Regions from separate parts of the Homo sapiens genome. Here all the other regions are linked to region 1. The links are contacts of gene promoters, found by promoter capture Hi-C in human tissues and cell types (Jung and others, 2019). All regions are on one chromosome and are shown on one strand. The core of a region is centred on a gene start or on the middle of the fragment in contact, and the rest is flanking DNA. Distances in the headings are between cores, read along the strand shown. Region 1 holds the start of HUNK (hormonally up-regulated Neu-associated kinase). Region 2 has its middle 32 kb from the start of SOD1. Region 3 overlaps SOD1-DT (SOD1 divergent transcript). Region 4 holds the start of LINC00159 (long intergenic non-protein coding RNA 159). Region 5 has its middle 19 kb from the start of LINC00159. Region 6 has its middle 39 kb from the start of LINC00159. Region 7 overlaps LOC124905008 (a long non-coding RNA gene).

Region 1 (2,919 bases), core at 276-2,775:
CGCCCGGCTAATTTTTGTATTTCTAGTAGAGACAGGGTTTCACCATCTTGACCAGGCTGGTCTTGAACTCCTGACCTCGTGATCTACCTGCCTCGGCCTCCCAAAGTGCTAGGATTACAGGCGTGAGCCACCGCGCCCGGCCTCAGAGTGGTTTTTACCCCAAAGTGAGCTCCATATTCCTCATTCTTTAGACAGTTGCTGGACATCTATTCTGCTGGCACCACGCTAGTTACCATTCCCCTCCCATGCAACTGTCCTGTTAAGATTTGATTACTGAATTAGAGACATTAAAAGGATTGAATGAACGTTACTGAAATAGTCAAGGCCGGTGGGAGCAAAGAAGTCCCTTCAGCACAGCAAGAAAAACATTTTAAGCTGTATCTTTAATATTGGTAAACGGGAACAATGAGACAGAACAACAGAAAACGCAGTATGTTCCGTCATAATAACTGAGGCTGGTGACTTGTAACAGGTAGGTGGATGAATATAGTAGCGTATTTAAAATTAGATGTATTGAAAGCAGGCATTTCTCTGCGTCCCTCTTCAGATGGGTCAGCGAGACCCCCAGACACTGGATTGATGACAGCTGTTGTTCCCCCACCCCCCACTCCCAATCTCAAAGCATTGCTATGGGTCGATGTCATACTTGTTTACTCAGGAATAAACAATGAAAGGAACTTTGTTAGGACCAAATCCTTCCTTTCAGCTCTGATGTTGCATGATCGGGGTGAAGTTTCCATCAAATGCGGGCACCTCAACAGGTAGCATTTTGTAAATGCCTCCTCCTACCTACCCTCCTCCTTCTCCCTCACAAGATTCTTCATTTTCGGTTTGAGAAGACGTTGGGGATCCTGGGAGAGGGTCCAGTGTCGTCAGGGCAGTTGCAATTGTTTATGCGATGAGCACAGTCACAGCGCTTGCAGAACAAAAGCATCGAAGAGAGGCGAGCGCCGGTCCACCTCCTGCAATCACAGGCATCATTTCAATGGAAGGCAAAGAAGGTGTAAGCTACAAGCAGAGGCAGCAAACGCCCTGGTTCCTACATTGCTGCTGCTACTATTACTGCTGTGGCTGCGCCTCCTCCAACACAGCCAACCAGGCTGCGTGCGAGCCCGGGCAGACGCCTGGCCGCCTCCCCACCCTTTCTTCCAGCCATCCATCTATCCTTCCACCCCCGGTCCAGGGGGCCCTACTGTGTGGCGGACTCAGGGCCGGGCACGCAACCCGACTCACAGTCCACGGAGTTCGAGAGCCTTCCCCCTTCCCCCCGCCCCGGGTGGGTGCGGCCAGTGGGGGATTTCACCGCCGAAAGGTCCAGAAAACCCAAGCCCAGAATCCGGGCAAGAGGCGCAGCCGGAGGCGGCCCGACCTGGGCGGCCCGGGAGCGCGCGCCTCCGAGGCCGCGCAGGTTCTCCCTGTCTGGCGCTCAGGTGGCTTCTCCGTCCACTCCGCCGCTCCCCTCCCCGGGCCCTCCCCTCTCCAGCGAGGGTCGAGTTTGACTGTGGCGCGCGGGGAAGGAGGGGCTACTAGGGATTTGAAAGTGCACGGGCTGCGGAGTGGAGCTCGCATCTGTTCCCGCCGCCCGCGAGCGGATTAAATTTCTGCAAATTCAAACTGAATGGGGCTTTCTTCTGCTGCCTTCCAGAGGGCGCCGGCAGCCCGCCGCGCGCTTCTCTCCGGCGGGAGCGGCCGCCCAGCGCACGGCTAGGAGCGATCGCGGGAGCCCGACCCAAGCCCGTGCGGGCCAGACGGCGGCGGCGAGGCGGAGGCTGCGGAGGCACCCGGGCTCCCGGACCCAGGCACCCGGACCCCGGGACCCAGGCGCCGCCGGACCGCGCCCCACCCCGCGCGCCCGAGCAGGGCGACTGTCATTAGCTTCCTGGACGGGACCCGGGGCGGGATCCTGGTGTCCTGAAAGGGGCCCGGGCGACCCTAAGAGGAAGAACTTTTGGGGGCGGGGTCCCCGGTCCCGCGTCCCCTGGGCAGCCGCTATTGTCTACGCGCCTCGCTGGGCGGCGCGGGGGGCGTGATCGCGGCGGCCCCGGGCTCTGGGTGCGGAGACCCAGGCGGGGCTGGGCCCAGGGCGGCGGCGGGAGAAGCCGGGGAAGCCGAAGAGCCTGGGGAGGAGGAGCTGCGAGCGCGGGAGACGAGCAGGAGCCGCGCGGGCCGCGGCGAGCGCGATGCCGGCGGCGGCGGGGGACGGGCTCCTGGGGGAGCCGGCGGCGCCTGGGGGCGGCGGCGGCGCGGAGGACGCGGCCAGGCCCGCGGCGGCCTGCGAGGGAAGTTTCCTGCCTGCCTGGGTGAGCGGCGTGCCCCGCGAGCGGCTCCGCGACTTCCAGCACCACAAGCGCGTGGGCAACTACCTCATCGGCAGCAGGAAGCTGGGCGAGGGCTCCTTTGCCAAGGTGCGCGAGGGGCTGCACGTGCTGACCGGGGAGAAGGTGAGTCTCCCGGGCGCCGTGGGGCTGGGGCACAGGGGCGGGAGTCGGCGGCCAGGACCCCGCGGGGAGCACTGCACTGGGAGTCCCAGTGTGCAGTCCCGGGCCAAGCGCCTTCCCCCTCCGCCCGGCTTTCCTGTTGGGTTAAAACGCGCGCTCAGCATCTCGCAGCCTTTCCCGAAGGCGGCCTGCGGTCCGCTGCCCGGGGGTTGGGGGCTTGGGAGGGGACGGCCTTGCCCCGGGAAGCGTCCCGCGCGGCCGTTCTGCTCGTGGAAGGGCGCCGCCTGGCGACACTAGCGCGGGGGGCGGGATGGGGCCCCTCTGCCCTTCAGGCCGGCAGGGGCGGCGGATCCGTGGCGAGGCGGGAACCAGGGCTAGAGGAGGTGGGCTCTTATGTCGGGGGGCGGGGGGGGCAGGAAAGCTAACAGCCAGCCTCTGGGGGGAGCTTAGAGTCTGATCCCCGTCCTGGGCTCTCGGAGGA
Region 2 (2,919 bases), core at 311-2,810, 250 kb before region 1:
TAATCCACATCAACCCTGGTATCAGGTTCTTGAGTCCAGTCCATGGCTAAGCGCGAACACACTCTGTATTAGTGTCTCAAGTGCAGGGGGCCCTGACCCCAGCAACTTTGAAGTTAAACTGTTATGTACATTATATCTACATGTGAATACAGTATTTTAAATTAGGAGGCAAGCACACATATAAAGGTGTTACTCTACCAAATATCAGGAGATGGTTGCGGTTCAGAGAACAGTTAATAAAAGGGCTAACCCCCATGGCACGTGTATACCTATGTAACAAAAGTGCACGTTCTGCACATGTATTCCAGAACTTAAAATATAATTTAAAAAAATTAAAAATAAAATAAAAGAGCTATGTTGGGAGATAATAACTGACTTATAGTTCTTTTTTTTTTTTTTTTTTTTTTGAGACGGAGTCTCGCTCTGTCGCCCAGGCTGGAGTGCAGTGGTGCAATCTTGACTCACTGCAACCTCCGCCTCCAGGGTTCTGGCCATTCTCCTGCCTCAGCCTCCCAAGTAGCTGGGACTAGAGGCGCCCACCACCACACCCGGCTAATTTTTTGTATTTTTAGTAGAGACGGGGTTTCACCGTGTTAGCCAGGATGGTCTCAATCTCCTGACCTCGTGATCCGCCCGCCTTGGCTTTCCAAAGTGCTGGGATTACAGGGGTGAGCCACTGCGCTCGGCCAACTGACTTACAGTTCTTTAAATTAAAAGAAATTGGTATAGAAAGGAAGTATAATCCAAAACATATTACTAAAACGACCCAGAGAGATTTTTCCATTGTCCAACATGTTCCTAATACAGCAAGTCAAAATTCATAATGACTTGGACGGTCAAAAGGAGAATGTTAACTTTTGAAAATGAAAGCCGTGGACATTCTGAGTAGGTGTTTGGCACCCAAAATTTCACTGAAGAAGAATGCTGTTTCTTAGTATCAAACCAAAGTGCAAAGCAATATAAATTAGAGGCCAAGACTTCTCTTGGCGTCAATTTACTTCTGTAAAACAGATTCTATGTTCCTTTTCTATGATCAGTTTACATTTGAAACATTAGATTTTTTCACTAATGAGGGAAGGAAATGGGCTTCTGTGCTACTTTCAAGTCAGTGAAGCTAAGGTCTCCTTCTCAAAGTAGAGCTGGAATCAGAGGTGAGAAATGTCGGGACTTGAAGAGTTAGGCTGCTTTGCATCTACCCAGCGTCTAGAACCAATTCCAGCTTCATAACTCAGCTGTGAACGAACTCCCTTAGGCATTGGTAGCCACGTAGCCAGTAGTTCAAGACTAGAAAACCCGGAAACGGGTGAAAGTGCAGACTGTTATCTAGAGATGTAAGTGTATGTTCTGGAGGGGGAATGGGTCTCATTCTGGGCACTGGGAGGCACATTTAAGAAACCACAAATCAAAATAGTGTCATCATGGGAGCTGCTGACGATTTGAAACTCATCAAACTGTAGGCAAAACACATGTCCAGAATGTTCCACCAATGTGCGCAAACACAATGTGCTTGCTGGGGCTCGAGGGTCAAGAGCGGCTTGCAAGTCCTAAACTTTAATTTTCCCATCATAGGCCCGGCTGACCATCCTCTTGTTATCAAACTGGATGCATCGGACCAATTCTTCATGTCCCTCTAGGACTCTTAAACAGGAGCCACATTCAATATCCAAGAGCCTAATGGTATGATCTGATGATCCACTAACAACCAGCCCATCCCTGTACTGGAGACAAGACTCGCTTGTGCCCATTGAGAGTACGAGCAAATTCACAGGTGCTCATGCTCCAGACTTTGATGGTCCTGTCACCAGAGGCAGACACGATGTATTTCTCGTCAAAGTCTACTACGTTGACAGCAGCTCAGTGGACAACCAGGACACCACGTAAAGTGATATCGGTCGCAGAAGCCATGTCCCACACAGCAATGGAGCGGTCCTTGGAACAGGTCACCATCAGTCCACTGCTGAAGCGTAAGTGCAGTACATCCTCATTGTGGTGGATTAATGTGTTAAGAACTTCACCCGTGTTCACTTCCCACACTCTCACCGTAGAATCCGAAGAGCCAGTTACAATGACACGCTCATCCTACTGCAGATAGAGGACAGAACCTGTGTGGCCATTAACACTTTCAAACATTCCAGGCTGGTTTTATCCCAAATCTTAATTATCTTGTAGGCCACTGATAATTTTTTCATCATCGTACTGTAAACCATAGACACCTTTACTATTTTCAGAGTGGTACTGAATCCTCTGCAAGCTGTGTCGGCCACACCGCTAGGTGGATTCTATAGTCTCTATATCCTGGATAATGTTTGGGTATAATGACCTATAAAATGAATTTGGAGGGCTAGATATGGGTCTGTTTTGAAACAGGTACTGATCCCACCCTCTTCTTTCTGAAAGTCCTTTCCATAGGGGATCAGTGTGTACCATTCGTTCAATCAGCTTCTTCCAAAGCATTCATTCTGAGATCAATCCCTGCCATCCTTTACATACCAGCTCTGCTGCACACAGAGACCTGGTAACCAGGTACAAAAGAATGTTTTCTGCTATGTGATCTAAGCCTTGCTCGGGTAAAGCAGTAATAAAGTCCTGCTGCAACATGGGCTTCAGGTAAGAGTTGATACGTCCATGGTGATAATGACACATTCGTGAAATAAGATGTTCCACAAATTCCAACTGATCTGATTCAGACCCCTGGTTAAAATATTGAATATACAAGTCTTTTTCTTTTTGGTAGTTTCCTTCTGATGGCCTCTTTCTGGAGATGATCACAAATGATGTTCCATTACTTATCTGCCAAGGAGTATTTTTCTTTGGGGACTTATCTTCATCTTGATCTTCCAGAACTGAAGTGTTAGTTCCACATGGCTGGGGAGGCCTCATAATCACGGCAGAAGGCAAGGAGGAGCAGGTCACATCTTA
Region 3 (2,919 bases), core at 184-2,683, 220 kb before region 1:
TGAAATACTACTATACGTTCATTAGAATGGCTGTAATCAAAAAAGAAAAACAATACCAAGTGTTGGTGAGGATGGGGAGAAAATGGAACCATCATACGTTGCTGATGGAAATGTAAAGTGATGTAGACACTTGGAAAAGCTAATTGGCAGTTTTTTAAAAAAGTTAAACAAAAGTTAAAAAACCAAAGAGAAATAAAACCATATGTGTTCAGAGGCATGAATGCCAGTGTTTACAGCAGCATTATTCATAATATTCAAGAACTGGAAATACTCCTGTATGCCTGTCTAAGGCTGTTGTAACAAACTACCATGCACACGGCTGGATGCGGTGGCTCATACCTGTAATCTCAGCACTTTGGGAAGCCGAGGAGGTGGATCACCTGAGGTCAGGAGATTGAGACCAGCCTGGCCATGATGGCAAAACCCTGTCTCTACTGAAAACACAAAAAATGAGCCGGGTGTAGTGGCAGGTACCTGTAATCCCAGCTACTTGGGAGGCTAAGGCAGGAGAATTGCTTGAACTCGGGAGGTGGAGGTTGCAGTGAGCCGAGATCGTGCCATTGCACTCCAGCCTGGCTGACAGAGAGAGACTCTGTCTCAGAAAAACAAACAAACCAGAAAAACAACTACCACAAACTGAGTGGCTTATATAACAGACATTGTCTCATAGTTCCAGAGGCTAGGAGAGATGAAGGTATCAGCAAGGCTGGTTCCTTCTGAGGCTGTGAAGAATCTGCTCCATGCCTCTCCCCTAGCTTTTTGGGGTTTGCTGACAATATCTGGTGTTCTTTGGCTTGTAGAAGCACCACACCTATCTCTGCCTTTATATTCACATGGGGGTGTTCTCCCTGTGTGCTTATGTCCAAATTTCCTCTTTTGTAAGGACACCAGTCATGCTGGACTTAGGGGTTCATCCTACTCCAGTATGACCTTATCTTAACTAATTACATCTGCAAAACCCCATTTCCAAACATGGTCACCTTCCAAGTTATTGGGGGTTAAAACTTCAGGGCTGGGCGTGGTGGCTCATGCCTGTAATCCCAGCAGTTTGGAAGGCCGAGGCAGGCGGATCACAAGGTCAGGAGATCGAGACCATCCTGGCTAACATGGTGAAACCCAGTCTCTATTAAAAATACAAAAAATTAGCCGGGCGTGGTGGCGGGCATCCCAGCTACTTGGGAGGCTGAGGCAGGAGAATGGCATGAACCTGGGAGGCAGAGCTTGCAGTGAGCCGAGATCGCGCCACTGCACTCCAGCCTGGGTGACAGAGCGAGACTCCGTCCAAAAAAATAAAACTTTAACATATGTATTTGGGGATGGGGCACAATTCAACCCATAATACATCCAAATGTCCCTCAGCTTATGAGCGGAAAAACGATCTCAGATACAGTCTATCCATGTAACAGAATAGTATTCACATATAGAAAGGCACAAATTACAGATAAGTGCTATAACGTGAACTGAGCTCTAAAACATCATGCTAAGTACAATAGGCCAGATGCAAAAGACAGTGTATTGTATGATACTATTTACATGAAATGTCCAGAAAGGGCAAATTTATTGACAGAAAGCAGGTCAGTGGTTGCCTGCAGCTTGGGGTGGGAGAAGGGATTAAGCAAAAACTACCATGAGGTAAATTGGGCTGATGGAAATGTTTTAAAACTGCATTGTGCTGGTAGCTGTCAACTACATAAATTTACTTTAAAAATCATTAAAGTGCATGCTTACAAAGGGTGAATTGTATGGTATGTAAATTGTATCTTAATAAAACTGTTAAAAAAAAAAAACAAACCAAACCTCCCAGGTTGTGGAGCAGCAATTTTTTTTAAAAGAACAATAACAATAAACCAATGCCTCTTTTTTTTTTTTTTTTTTTTTAGGCAGGGTCTCACTCTGTTGCCCAGGCTGGAGTGCAGAGGTGCGATCTCTGCTCACTGCAACCTCTGCCACCTGAGTTCAAGCAATTCTGCCACCTCAGTCTCCTGGGTAGCTGAGACTATAGGTGTGTGCCACCATGCCCAGCTAGTTTTTGTATTTTTTGTAGAGTCGGGGTTTCACCATGTTGCCCAGGCTGGTCTCAAACTCCTGGGCTGAAGTGATCTGCCCGTCTCCGCCTCCAAAAGTGCTGGGATTATAGGGTTGAACCACCATGCCCAGCCCCTTTCCTTAAAAACAGAAAGAAGTTGTGAAGCAGAATCATCCTGTCATGATAAAGGTATGACTAAATAATACGTGAAAAACATGCAACTCAATTAACTCTTCACAAGTGTAATGATCTCAAACAAAATATACTACCCTTCATCTCAACTTAAATACCAATCTTCATGCAATAAGTAAAATCTGCACTGATGAGACTTTTAAAACAGCAGCCCCACCACATATGAGGCCTATAAACCAAGCTTGTCCAACCCGCAGCCTATGGTGCCTGTGGCCCAGGAAGGCTTTGGGTGCAGCCCAATGCAAATTCATAAACTTTCTTAAAATGTGAGATTGCCTTTGCGATTTTTTTTTTTTTTTTTTTTTTTTTAGCTCACCAGCTATCATTAGTGTTAACGTATTTTATGTGTGGCCCAAGACAATTCTTCAAATATAGCCAATTTGAAGCCAATATGGCCCAGGTGATGGGGACCCCTGGGGTTTAAACCGCACAAACTTTAGGCATTATCATTTCAAGTTTAAGTCTCACCCAACTCCTACCCACCTAGTAGGGTAGAGGTTCATTAAGAAAATTATGTGCCTTAAAGGGAATAGATAATTACATTTTTAAAAAACAACTTTGAGGCTGGGGGCGGTAGCTCATGCCTATAATCCTAGCACTTGGGGAGGCTGAGGCAGGTGGATTGCTTGAGCCCAGGAGTTCTAAATGAGCTTGGGCAACATAGGGAGACCCCATCTCTACCAAAAAATAAAAAAAAAATT
Region 4 (2,919 bases), core at 210-2,709, 210 kb after region 1:
TCGGCCTCCCAAAGTGCTGGGATTACAGGCTTGAGCCACCACACCCAGCCCTGAAGTCTTTCTAGAAGGATTCTCCATCTTATTTTTGTCCTAGAGATACTCAATACTCAGTAATCTCATCCTGATCCAATATGGCCTACCCTGAGGAATGGAGGAAGAGCTTGGTTCTGGATTGGACTCTTCTGGCAAGGCAGGCATGACAGCAGACCTTGCTATTCACGAGTTTACGAATAATCTTGAGGAACCTTGAGCTCACCTGTGGTCACTCCTTCTTCCCACCCCAAGGAGAAGAGAAGCTTGTCTTCTTGGATGCAGTTGGGAGCCTACAGCCTACTCCCACACCCAGGCCTCTGTGGCTGTCCAAAGTCCACGTGTCCCCAAGACCATCCTCACTTGGGGAGGACGTCGGCATATTATGGGTTCAGTCATTCTAGGTATAACTATCTTCTGTATGACCAGGTCAAGCTATATATAGCTTAGAAATTTTCAGGTGCTCGATTAGTAATCACAACCAATGTGATTCAAGCATCTATCTGCTTGGATTTTTTAAAAAAGTGTTTTCAGTCTTCCCAGTCCTGGATATTTTAAGCAGAAGGACCCATCCAAGCATCATAGGATAAGCACCCAAATCAGAACAAGCTCCTGGTATCTCAGTAATGAGAAGCTCCTTTCTCATTACTGCCCATCTTCCCTGACCAGACTGAGCCTTTATCCCCTGTAATGATCCTGAGATTGCCCCTTGGATACAAGGACAGTTTCATTTTGGTCTGATATTCTGCCACAGATTTGATCCTCTGATCTGCCCTGGGAATAGATCTCCCTGATCAAGAAGGACTCCTGTGCAGTAAATAATTCACCTTGTCCAAAAGAGGTTTGACTTTTGCCCTCAGCACATGAGAGGTAACTTCTAAGCCCTTGAAATGTTTCTGAGGCAGGAGAATGTTGTGAACCCAGGAGACGGAGCTTGCAGTGAGCTGAGATCACGCCACTGCACTTCAGCCTATACGGTAGAGTGAGACTCCGTCTCAAAAAAAAAAAAAAAAAAAGAGAATGCCTTTGTTTATATGGGGGGCTTGGGATAGCCCAAAGGGTCTATGTTATCAATGTGATTTATGGTGGGGACTTTGAACCACACAGTATCAACCTGACCTCTGGAAGTGCTGGTGACCAAGGTCAGCCCAGCAGATGGTCAATCATGTCTACGTGAACAAGTCCCAATAAAAACTGTGCACACCAAGACTCTGGTGAGTTTTTCCTGGTTAATAATACTCTGTGCATGATGTCAAATGTTGTGTCTGAGAGGTGCTCTCTGCACGACTCATGTTTAATGACTTCTAAAATCTGACCTATATGCCTCTTCCCTTGGAGGATTTTAATCTGTATCCTTTCATGGTAATAAAGCATAACCATGAATATAATAACTTTTCTGAGTTCTGTGCATCTTGCTAGCAAATTATTGAATCTGAGATGGTCCTGGGGATCTTCAATTTGTTGTTGGTGTCAGAAGTGAGGAGGATCTTGTAGACACCCGAACTTTGCAACCTTCAAAGTAGAATCCCAGCATCAACTCACCTGGCCAGAACTCCCATGAAAAGCGATTAGCAATCTTCATCCTAGAACCTGGGGACATTCTGTTTTTCCTTCTTTTCTGGTCAATCGGTCTCTTCTCAGCCACTGCACTCTTAGAACAGTCTGACCTCCTAGTTTCCCTTTGGAGCCTTTCCTACCTCATCCCCAAACCAGGTTAAACCCTCCCACCTGCTGTTTATCCTCTTCTAGAGATATCTCCCTTTTCTGCATCATTACCTTCTCTTATCAGGCACATACCCCAGGTTCATACCTGCCCAAATGAGGTCCTCCTTCTGTCAGTCAATTCCTGAATTATCAAAGCTCACCACATCTTCTGAGCTGGCATTTCCATATGATATCAGTCTGCTGAAAATAAATTCCAATATACAGACACAAGGAGATCCAGTTAAAAGAGCCCAGGAAATTCTCTATTTATTACAGAATGACAAGTAGAGGTCTTGACGTAAACGCAGAAAAGCAGGAGGCCCCGGAATCTCACAGAAAGAAATAACATGAGAACTGGGAAGGACAGTTCTGAAGCTTTCATAAGACAAATCCATCAAACACAAGAGAGAAAATTAGATTTCCTATTCTGCTTTTTCAATAGTGATCCAATTAATACTTGAATACTTGAATACTTCTAAGCCCTTGAAATGTTTCTGAGGCAGGAGAATGGTGTGAACCCAGGAGGCGGAGCTTGCAGTGAGCTGAGATCACGCCACTGCACTTCAGCCTATACAGTAGAGCGAGACTCCGTCTCAAAAAAAAAAAAAAAAAAGAATGCCTTTGTTTACATGGGGGGCTTGGGATAGCCCAAAGGGTCTATGTTATCAATGTGATTTATGGTGGGGACTTTGAACCACACAGTATCAACCTGACCTCTGGAAGTGCTGGTGACTGGGGCAATAAAAACACAGTAATTTGGATCAATTGGTAAAGAGCTCAATATGAGTTAATGAAAGTTAGAATTGCAGAATATAGTGGAAGAAACACAATAAAATTACTTCCAAATATTTACATAGATTTTTAAAAAACAAGCAACCAAGTAGAAGTCTTATGGGTCGATTATAGTAAGTAGACAATTTTCATGTGCCAGTTCACATTATTTTAATCCAATCAGTGCTACTCAAGTGCTTTAATAATGTGAAAAATAGTTTCCATTCTTAATCAGATCAAATATTTTCCTTCCAAGGCATCTGAGATTGTGTTTAGTAAATTTGTATAAATAGTAATTCTCATCTCTCATGAAGGCAAATTTGAGGGAGGAGGTGGGATGGGAGGAAGGCCTAAGTTAATAAGGAATTACTTGATTAGAATGAGTTGGCATATTACAGATCTATAAAATCGAGA
Region 5 (2,919 bases), core at 213-2,712, 190 kb after region 1:
GTAAGATGTTTTTTGCCCTCAGCCCAAAAGGGTGCAGCCACATTACACATATAATCGGGTGTGGTGGTTCTTTACCTTAAGCCTTGATGGGTGTACATCGATAGCACACCGGGGCAGAGAGGTCACGTGTGCAAAGATTTGCACATTAGAAATAATATAACCCTTGAGGGATGTTGCTTTTATTTCTTCCCTATACACCCCCAGCTTAATTATTATTGACATTCTAGTGAAGTATTATTGTTATTTTCCAAAGAAAGACCCTTGTCTTCTGCAGTCTTCATGGAAGAATATTCAAGGAAAGTCTGGCTGTTACTATTGCCTGGAGGTGTGAAATGTGAAAGGCAGTTTGCAGTGTGTTCCTGACGTCTCTAAAGTATGGGCAGAGGGAAACAGACATAAGATATTGTTTAAAGCAGTTTCTTTTCTGGGGGCTCAGATCCCATGGGTTCAAGGAGCACCAATTTGCCTACCTCTCTGCTCCTCTTCCTCCCCTGACAGGGCCATGTGAGCTCAGCCTTGAGAACCCAAGCAAAAGGAATAATAATAGCAACAATGACCCTGTGACAGCAGCATTGTTCTGTTTCCTTCCTAGGTGCTGGGTACTATGCTTGGCGCTTTATATGAATCATCTCATTTACTTTCACAACAGCTGAGGCAGGAGCTCCTTTTGTCATACCCATTTTACAGATGGGCAATTGAGGATCAGAGAAATTAAGAAATGAGCCCAAAGTCACATAGCTAGCAAGTGGCAGAGCTGGGTTTTGAACCAGACTTTTTGGCTCCAGAGTCCTCACTCCTAACTATTAGAGCTCTTCTGCTTCTGACATTGAAGCTTAGTTTATGGGGTTGGTATAGAGGGTCTAACAGTATGTCTGACACCTACTAAGTGCCTCCAAATTTAATGGTGGTAGTTGCCATTCCTGGAATTTGTGACTTGCTTGTGAAACAGCTCCCCTTGGCCAGGAGTGGTGGCTCACACCTGTAATCCCAGCACTTTGGGAGGCTGAGGCAGGCGGATCACGTGAGGCCAGGAGTTTGAGACCAGCCTGACCAACAAGTCAAAATCCTGTCTCTACTAAAAATACAGAAATTAGCTGGGCATGGTGGTGGGTGCCTGTAATTCCAGCTACTTGGGAGGCTGAGGCGTGAGAATTGCTTGAACTCAGGAGGCAGAGGTTGCAGTCAGCTGAGATCGTGCCACTGCACTCCAGCCTGGGTGATGAAGCAAGACTGTCTCAAAAAAAAAAAAAATCCAGACAAACCGGAAAAACACAAAACAACCCCAGCTGTCCGTGGGCTATGTCCTAATGGGGTCCTGACTCCTGTATGCTACCTCCTTCTAGCAGTTGCAGCCACTCAATGTCCACTTGAGGGGCAGCCTCCATTTTCACGAGCAATGCTGAGCTGAGGGCTGGGGACAATTAAGTCCCTCCAGATGGATTGTTGACCCTGATTCCTCTGACAAGGATTCTCTCCTCCTTCTTCCTGCCTACTTGCCTCTGTTCTTCCAGTCGGGGCCTGTCTTGGTCTTAGTTCTCAACCTTCCACCTTTCCCAGACGTGAGGCCACACTCTTGCCCGCCGTGAACAGATGCTGCTCCCTGTGGACCTGGCTGTTTGCTGTGGGCTCTTCTGCAGATTATCTTTTTGTCAGGGCCCGGCTCTGGCCAACTTGTGGTGTTGGGAAGCATCACCTACCTACAGGCTGCCATAAACCAGAACGGAGAGACCATCAAGCTTCTGGGAACAATTTGGAATCTAAATGTTCCCTGGAGCCACTGTAATTTGGGCAGAGAGGGGAAAACCTCAGTAAAAAGTTGAAGGGAGAGAAATCAGGATCAGGGAGGAGAGCTGGGGGGCAGAGGGAGAGAGGAGGCACCTGGAGACACCTGTTCCTGCGGCAGGACGGCGGGTGGGAGCTGTACCTGCAGGCGGCTCTGTATCCTGGCCAAGATGCTCCGCCCATCACCTCTGTTGCCACCATGTTGCCAGGAAACATTTGGATTGCATTCTACCATTGAAGAAGCCCTGCCAAGAGGGCCAGTCAGGGCCAGGACATCATTCCCTCCTGCTCACGGCTGGCCGTGCCCAGCTGGCTATCCAGAGGGCACCAGCATCAGGGATCAGGAGCTCACCAGGTATTTCTTTGCATGGTGAGTGGTAACTTACAAAGCAGGGCCCTGCACTGTGAATAGGCAAGTTCAGTTTCGCTGGGTCTTGACACAGTGTGGTTAAATAACACCTGCAGATGGAATCACCAGGAGAGCCTGTTAAAATACAAATTCCTGGGACTACCCCTATGTACCCCCAAACTTAGTCAAAACTCCCACTCTGTGCCAAGTACTGCTCAACTCACTTTATATGTGTTAACTCACTTAGAGTTAATACCTGCAAGGTAGGTGCTACTATCATTGTTCCCATTTTACAGATGAAGAAACTGGTGCAGAGAGGGCTGGGAAGGCACCCTGGTCACACAGCTAATAAGAATTGGGATCTGAACTCAGGCTGAGTGGCTGCAGAGCCCTCTGCCAGGCCAGCCTGGGAGCCTCCTGTCTCAGACAGAAAAGCCTGTCCACTTGAAAAATGGACATCAGCAATGGCTTTTCAACCTACTGGGCTAATTAGTGCTCACTTGGAAGTCATCAGCTTAAACCAAATATTGTTAATCTATAAAATTCCTATGACCATGGGTCAGCCACCTTGCTGCCCTGTAAATGATAGGGTATTATCTTCCCAAACTCAATAAGGTTTTCAACCTATTTGGGAGTCAGTGACCTCCTTGACAATCCAATGAAAGTGTGGATCTTGCCCACATAACAAAAGACACCTATTCACATTTAATATGTAATAGCAAGAATGCCCAGGAAATCTGTGGATGCTATGTTGTGAACCCCAACCTACATGAATACATGAATCTTCC
Region 6 (2,919 bases), core at 282-2,781, 170 kb after region 1:
ATAAAAATGAATGAAGAGCTTGCCGGACAAATAAAAAGGCCCCAAACTGAAGCATTTTGGCAGTGTGAAAATTCACAGCTTGAAAATGAGATATAGAAGCTTTAGCTGAAGCTTCAAATACTGCCTAAATTACATCCGGAACATGTAATGCAATGGCAGAGAGAAAATGGCTGAGGAGGAAATACACTGCTTGGAAATTAAGAAGAAACTTCCCAGCGTGTGTAGAAATGTGAATTACATACATCAGATTCACAACCTCTACAAGAAGATGACCCAAGACATGGACAAAGAATAAGGAAGAACCACTTTCTTCTATCAAAAGGAGATTCTCTTCTATGAGGAAACAGTACGGGAAAAATTGGATGGCAGTTCTGTTGACTGAGAGAAAACTCAACGTGCTAAGAAAAAAAAAAATGATCGCAGCAGGAAAATCCTGGCTAACGTCAAGTTCAAGTCTCACCTTTCCCAAGTGGCCTTTTTATTCCTGCTGTTCCAAGCACAACACACAGAGGCCCAGAACTACCAGGGGGTCCCCTGAATCATCACGTTCTCCAGGAAGGAGGAGGACGGTGCTATGAGGCTCAAGGATCTGGGTCACCTTCAGATTTCACTCAGTTCTCACAGCAGGGGGGCCCTGAACACCCACAATCACAGCAGGACATCCGCCTGTGCTGTCTCTTTAAAGTGATTTTGATGTATTTCTTTTTAGTTCAGCTGCTCTTATTTAATGGATGCTACCATTGCTCTTATTCAAGTAGACATAGCATTATAATTTGAAGACAGTTTTTTTTTTTTTTTGAGATGGAGTTTCTCTCTTGTTGCCCAGGCTGGAGTGCAATGGCACGATCTTGGCTCACTGCAACCTCGCCTCCCGGGTTCAAGCAATTCTCCTGCCTCAGCATCCTGAGTAGCTGGGATTACAGGTATGCACCACCATGCCCGGCTGATTTTGTGTATTTTTAGTAGAGATGGGGTTTCTCCATGTTGGTCAGGCTGGTCTTGAACTCCTGACCTCATGTGATCCACCTGCCTTGGCCTCCCAAAGTGCTGGGATTACAGGCGTGAGCACTGTGCCCGGCCTTTAAGATAGTATTTTTCAAATAAAGGTTTATTTTATATAACACTTATGAATACATTATTTTTCATGTTGTTGAACTCTCTACAGTTAGGCCATAGAAATCTTGTTTTGTTTTGTTTTGTTTTTGAGAGAGTCTCTTTCTGTTGCCTAGGCTGGAGGGCAGGGGCACAATCTCGGCTCACTGCAACCTCCACTTTCTGGGTTCCAGAGATTCTCGGGCCTCAGCCTCCTGAGTAACTAGGACTACAGGTGTGTACCACTGCGCCCAGCTTATTTTTGTATTTTTAGTAAAGATGGAGATTTGCCATGTTTCCCAGGCTGGTATCAAACTCCTGACCTCAAGCAATCCACCCACGTTGGCCTCCCAAAGTGCTGAGATTACAGGCATGAGCCATCATGCCCAGCAAAATATTGTATTTTAATTTAAATGGAGGGTCCGCTGTTACTTAAACTATCATTGAATAACAATGTTTAGAACAACAAAGACCATTTCTGTACGCTAGGGACAGCTATTAGACATTTGTTCAAGTAATTTCATATTTACTACAATACACTTTTTTTTTTTGAGGCAGAGTCTTGCTCTGTTGTCCAGGCTGGAGTGCAGTGGCGCGATCTCTGCTCACTGCAAGCTCCGCCTCCCGGGTTCATGCCATTCTCCTGCCTCAGCCTCCCAAGTAGCTGCGACTACAGGCGCCCGCCACCATGCCTGGCTAATTTTTTGTATTTTTTTAGTAGAGACGGGGTTTCACCATGTTAGCCAGGATGGTCTCAATCTCCCGACCTCGTGATCCACCCTCCTCGGCCTCCCAAAGTGCTGGGATTACAGGCATGAGCCACCGTGCCCGGCACCACAATACATTTTGATTGGTTTTAAAAAGTTGAGGGGAAACACCCCTTAACAACAACAATTCCCCACTCAAACATCATAATGTTGTTATTAGATTAGCCCTAAATTCATAGATTGATTTAGGGGAGTCGATATTTTGCAACCACTTTTTTTCTTATTTTGTAATTTTTAAAGACTTTATTGTTTTGTTTAAGATACTGTTTGTTGTTTAAACATTTCTAAATTTTATACAGTCAAAAGTTTTCCCTTGCATGCGGGGCTTAAAGCCTAGATGATGAGTTGATAGGTGCAGCAAACCACCATGGCACATGTATACCTGTGTAACAAACCTGCACGTTCTGCACATGTATCCCAGAACTTAAAGTAAAATTAAAAAAACAAGTTTTCCCTTAATGTCACATGCACCTGTACACACAGACACACACACACACACACACACAGACACACACACCCCACAATGCAGATGTAAGGTACTTTCAATTGTTATGTCAGTACTTGAGGAAAATGTAAAAATAAAAAGAGCCACGATTTTAAAAACATTTTTAAAATAAATAAGTGAAGAAAGAAAAAATTGAGTGCACACCAAATTTGTACATACAGAAAAGAGATCTAAATCATAAACACACAAAAGGAGGGCTGCTAATGTATCACACAAGATTCAAACAAGAAGCAGTTCATCCTAAACCGTGCAGATGAAGAGATGTTGATGAAAGCGGTTTTCCAAGCAGTGGGTGGGGATAAGGAACTGACAGGGGATGGTGAGGCTCTCAGACGCCAGCAACAGGGGGATGACTGCCCTCCCCCACCTAGGCCCCAAGGAAGGAGGGAGGAAGTGGTGTCATCTGAGCCCAGCGGGGAGCTTTTGAGGGATGGATAAAACTGGTCCCCACCCTCTCTGGTCTTGTCTTCCTATTGACTACTGGTGCACAGGCAGCCACCAGCCATAGGGCCTGAGCAGTGCAGGCCAGAGGAGTTGGCCTCCTAGGCACAGAGC
Region 7 (2,919 bases), core at 223-2,722, 130 kb before region 1:
ATATACATAGCCCACTGTCTTAATTTCTCTAGTAATTCAAGTAAATCAGTTAAAGTCTCCAACATAGTTCTTTTAAAAATTGTTTTCACTATGCTGTAATCTTTGCATTTCTATATAAATTTTTAAATCAACTTGTTAATTTCAAAAAAAAAAAAACACCCCACACAACTGAAAACAAGACAAAATAGGAAGTATGCTGGCTAGGCGTGGTGGCTCACGCCTGTAATCCCAGCACTCTGGGAGGCCGAGGTGGGCGGATCACGAGGTCAGGAGTTTGAGACCAGCCTGGCCAACGTGGTGAACCCCCGTCTCTATTAAAGATACAAAAAATTAGCTGGTCATGGTGGCGCTCGCCTGTGCACCTGTAATCCCAGCTACTTGGGAGGCTGGGGCAGGAGAATTGCTTGAACCTGGGAGGCAGAGGTTGCAGGGAGCCGAGATCACGCCATTGCACTCCAGCCTGGGCAACAGGGTGAGACTCCGTCTCAAAAAACAAAACAACAACAACAACAACAAAAATCACAAATGGGTGTTAATGTTGTCAGATACCATGGCTATATTCATTGGGATGATTATGTGATTTTGTCTATTCTATTATATTAATGAATTACTGTGATTGGTTTTTGAATGTGAAACCAACCTGGCATTCCTATAATAAAATCCACTTGGTTATGGGATATTACTTTTTTTATATGTTGCCGGGTTCAATTTGCAAAGATTCTGTCTGTCAAAATATTTCCTTCTATATTCATGAGTGGTATTGGTGGTCTCTGTTTTCCTTTTCTTGTAATGGTTTTGGTGTCGGGGTAGCTTGCTCTCATCAAATTATTTGATAAGTGCTTCTCTCCTTCCCTGTTATCTATTTTTTTTTTTTTTTTTTTTAGATAGCGTTTTGCTCTTGTCACCCGGCTGGAGGGCAGTGGTGCGATCTTGGCTCACTGCAACCTCCTGGGTTCAAGCGATTCTCCTGCCTCAGCCTCTCAAGTAGCTGGGATTACAGGCAGCTGCCACCATGCCCAGCTAATTTTTGTATTTTTACTAGAGATGGGGTTTCACCATGTTGGCCAGGCTGGTCTCGAACTCCTGACCTCAGGTGATCCACCTGCCTCGGCCTCCCAAAGTGCTGGGATTACAGGTGTGAACCACCACACCCGACCTCCTTCTCTATTTTCTAAAATAGCCTGTGTGGAATTGATATTATTTCTTTCTTAAGATTTGTTAGAATTCACCAATGAAGCCACTTGGGCCTAAAGTTTTGCTTATGAGAGGGTTTTATATTAATCAATTTTTAAAATTGATATAGTGTTCTTCAGGTCTTCTGTTTCTCGAGGGAGTTTTGATCATTTGTATTTTTTTCAGAAAATTGTCCATTTAAAGGTTGTCAATTTATTGCATAAAGTTTTTCCATGATATTCTGTTATTACCCTTTTAATGTCTGTAGTGATATTTCCTCTTTCATTTCTGATATTGATAATTTCTATCTTCTTTTTTTTCTTTTCTTGTTGAGTGAGGTTAGAGATTCATCTATTTTGTTGTTCCAAAAACCAAAGAAACAGTTTTTGGTTTCATTGATTAGCTCTATTGTTTGTGGACTTTCTAGTTCATTGATTTTCACTCTTATTTCCTTTCTTCTGCTTCCTTTATATTTAATTTGCTCTTTTCAAGTTTTTTTTTTTTTTTTTTTTTTGAGACAATGTCTCACTCTGTCGCCCAGGCTGGAGTGCAGTGGGGTGATCTTGGCTCACCACAACCTCTGCCTCCCGGGTTCAAGCAATTTTCCTGCCTCAACCTCCTGAGTAGCTGGGACTACAGGTGTGCGCCACCATGCCTGGCTAATTTTTGTATTTTTAGTAGAGACGGGGTTTCACCATTTTGGCCAGGCTAGTCTTGAACTCCTGACCTTGTGATCTGCCCACCTCGGCCTCCCTAAGTGCTTGGATTACAGGGGTGAGCCACTGTGTCCGGCCTCTTTTCCGGTTTCTTAAAGTGGAGGCCTAGATCATTGATTTTAGCCTTTTTTTTTTTTTTTGAGATGGAGTCTCGCTCTGCCACCCAGGCTGGAGTGCAGTGGCACCATCTCGGCTCACTGCAACCTCCACCTCCCTAGTTCAAGCAATTCTCCTGTTGCAGCTTCCTGAGTAGCTGGGATTACAGGCACATACCACCATGCCCGGCTAATTTTTTTTTATGTTTAGTAGAGATGGGGTTTCATCATGTTGGCCAGACTGGTCTCGAACTCTTGACCTCAGGCGTGAGCCAACACGCCCAGCCGAGCCTTTTTTTTTTTTTTTTTTTTTGTATTGTAAGCATTTAAAACTTTAAATTTACTTCTCAAATTTTGGAGTGTTGTATTTCTTAAATATTTAGTTCAAAATATTTTGTAATTTCCCTTGGGAGTTTTTCTTTTCCCTAAGTTCTTATTTATGAAAGTATTGTTTAAATTCCAAATAGTTGGGAATTTCTGTTATCTTTCTGTGATTGATTATACTAATCGAATTCCATTATAGTCACATATCATACTTCATATGATTTCAGTTTTTTTTTAATTATTGTGACTTGTTTTGTGGCTCAATTCATGGTCTACCTAGATGATTGCTCCATGTGCACTTTAAAATAATATATATTCCGCTCTTGTTAGGTAGGATAATAATATATATTCCGCTCTTGTTAGGTAGGATAATAATATATATTCCGCTCTTGTTAGGTAGGATAATAATATATATTCCGCTCTTGTTAGGTTCTGTTAACGTCTCTTGGATCAAGTTGGTTGATGGTATTATTTAAGTCTTCTAGATTTCTATTCTTTTTCTACCTGCTTATTATGTCAATTAGAGAGGAGATTTGATGTCTCCTGATGTGATTGTGCATGTATTTATTTCTCCTTTCAATAGCTTTGTGTATTTTTTTCTTTGTTTGGTT

The links. The method cuts DNA at HindIII sites, captures the fragments that hold promoters and counts their contacts. A contact is called where the count stands out against the background at its distance.
Region 2: a fragment that was not itself captured here is called in contact with the fragment with the promoter of HUNK in region 1 in 1 of the 25 tissues and cell types used here (lymphoblastoid cells).
Region 3: a fragment that was not itself captured here is called in contact with the fragment with the promoter of HUNK in region 1 in 1 of the 25 tissues and cell types used here (lymphoblastoid cells).
Region 4: a contact is called between a fragment that was not itself captured here and the fragment with the promoter of HUNK in region 1, in 4 of the 25 tissues and cell types used here (aorta, dorsolateral prefrontal cortex, lymphoblastoid cells and 1 more).
Region 5: a fragment that was not itself captured here is called in contact with the fragment with the promoter of HUNK in region 1 in 4 of the 25 tissues and cell types used here (IMR-90 fibroblasts, dorsolateral prefrontal cortex, lymphoblastoid cells and 1 more).
Region 6: a contact is called between a fragment that was not itself captured here and the fragment with the promoter of HUNK in region 1, in 2 of the 25 tissues and cell types used here (dorsolateral prefrontal cortex and thymus).
Region 7: a fragment that was not itself captured here is called in contact with the fragment with the promoter of HUNK in region 1 in 6 of the 25 tissues and cell types used here (H1 embryonic stem cells, heart right ventricle, liver and 3 more).

What each region holds. Positions count from the first base shown.
Region 1 is chr21:31,871,495-31,874,413 of GRCh38, forward strand. HUNK (hormonally up-regulated Neu-associated kinase) reads left to right here and starts at 1,526. Exons shown (of 11, transcript NM_014586.2): 1 at 1,526-2,441. The coding sequence starts at 2,181. RefSeq lists silencers at 1,644-1,693, 2,620-2,799. The HindIII fragment of the contact is 17,092 bases long and covers 1-2,919 here.
Region 2 is chr21:31,625,808-31,628,726 of GRCh38, forward strand. It overlaps the pseudogene FBXW11P1. Among named protein-coding and RNA genes, the nearest start is that of SOD1, 32 kb to the right of the region's middle. The HindIII fragment of the contact is 6,770 bases long and covers 1-2,919 here.
Region 3 is chr21:31,651,060-31,653,978 of GRCh38, forward strand. It overlaps SOD1-DT (SOD1 divergent transcript), which reads right to left. Exons shown (of 3, transcript NR_187558.1): 3 at 2,528-2,919. Among named protein-coding and RNA genes, the nearest start is that of SOD1, 7.2 kb to the right of the region's middle. RefSeq lists an enhancer at 2,784-2,919. The HindIII fragment of the contact is 3,434 bases long and covers 1-2,919 here.
Region 4 is chr21:32,084,364-32,087,282 of GRCh38, forward strand. LINC00159 (long intergenic non-protein coding RNA 159) reads right to left here and starts at 1,932. Exons shown (of 2, transcript NR_038033.1): 1 at 1,841-1,932. The HindIII fragment of the contact is 3,140 bases long and covers 1-2,919 here.
Region 5 is chr21:32,065,835-32,068,753 of GRCh38, forward strand. No RefSeq gene overlaps it. Among named protein-coding and RNA genes, the nearest start is that of LINC00159, 19 kb to the right of the region's middle. The HindIII fragment of the contact is 3,631 bases long and covers 1-2,919 here.
Region 6 is chr21:32,045,782-32,048,700 of GRCh38, forward strand. No RefSeq gene overlaps it. Among named protein-coding and RNA genes, the nearest start is that of LINC00159, 39 kb to the right of the region's middle. The HindIII fragment of the contact is 6,648 bases long and covers 1-2,919 here.
Region 7 is chr21:31,739,027-31,741,945 of GRCh38, forward strand. All of the region lies in intron 1 of LOC124905008 (a long non-coding RNA gene), which reads left to right. Among named protein-coding and RNA genes, the nearest start is that of SCAF4, 8.4 kb to the left of the region's middle. The HindIII fragment of the contact is 5,403 bases long and covers 1-2,919 here.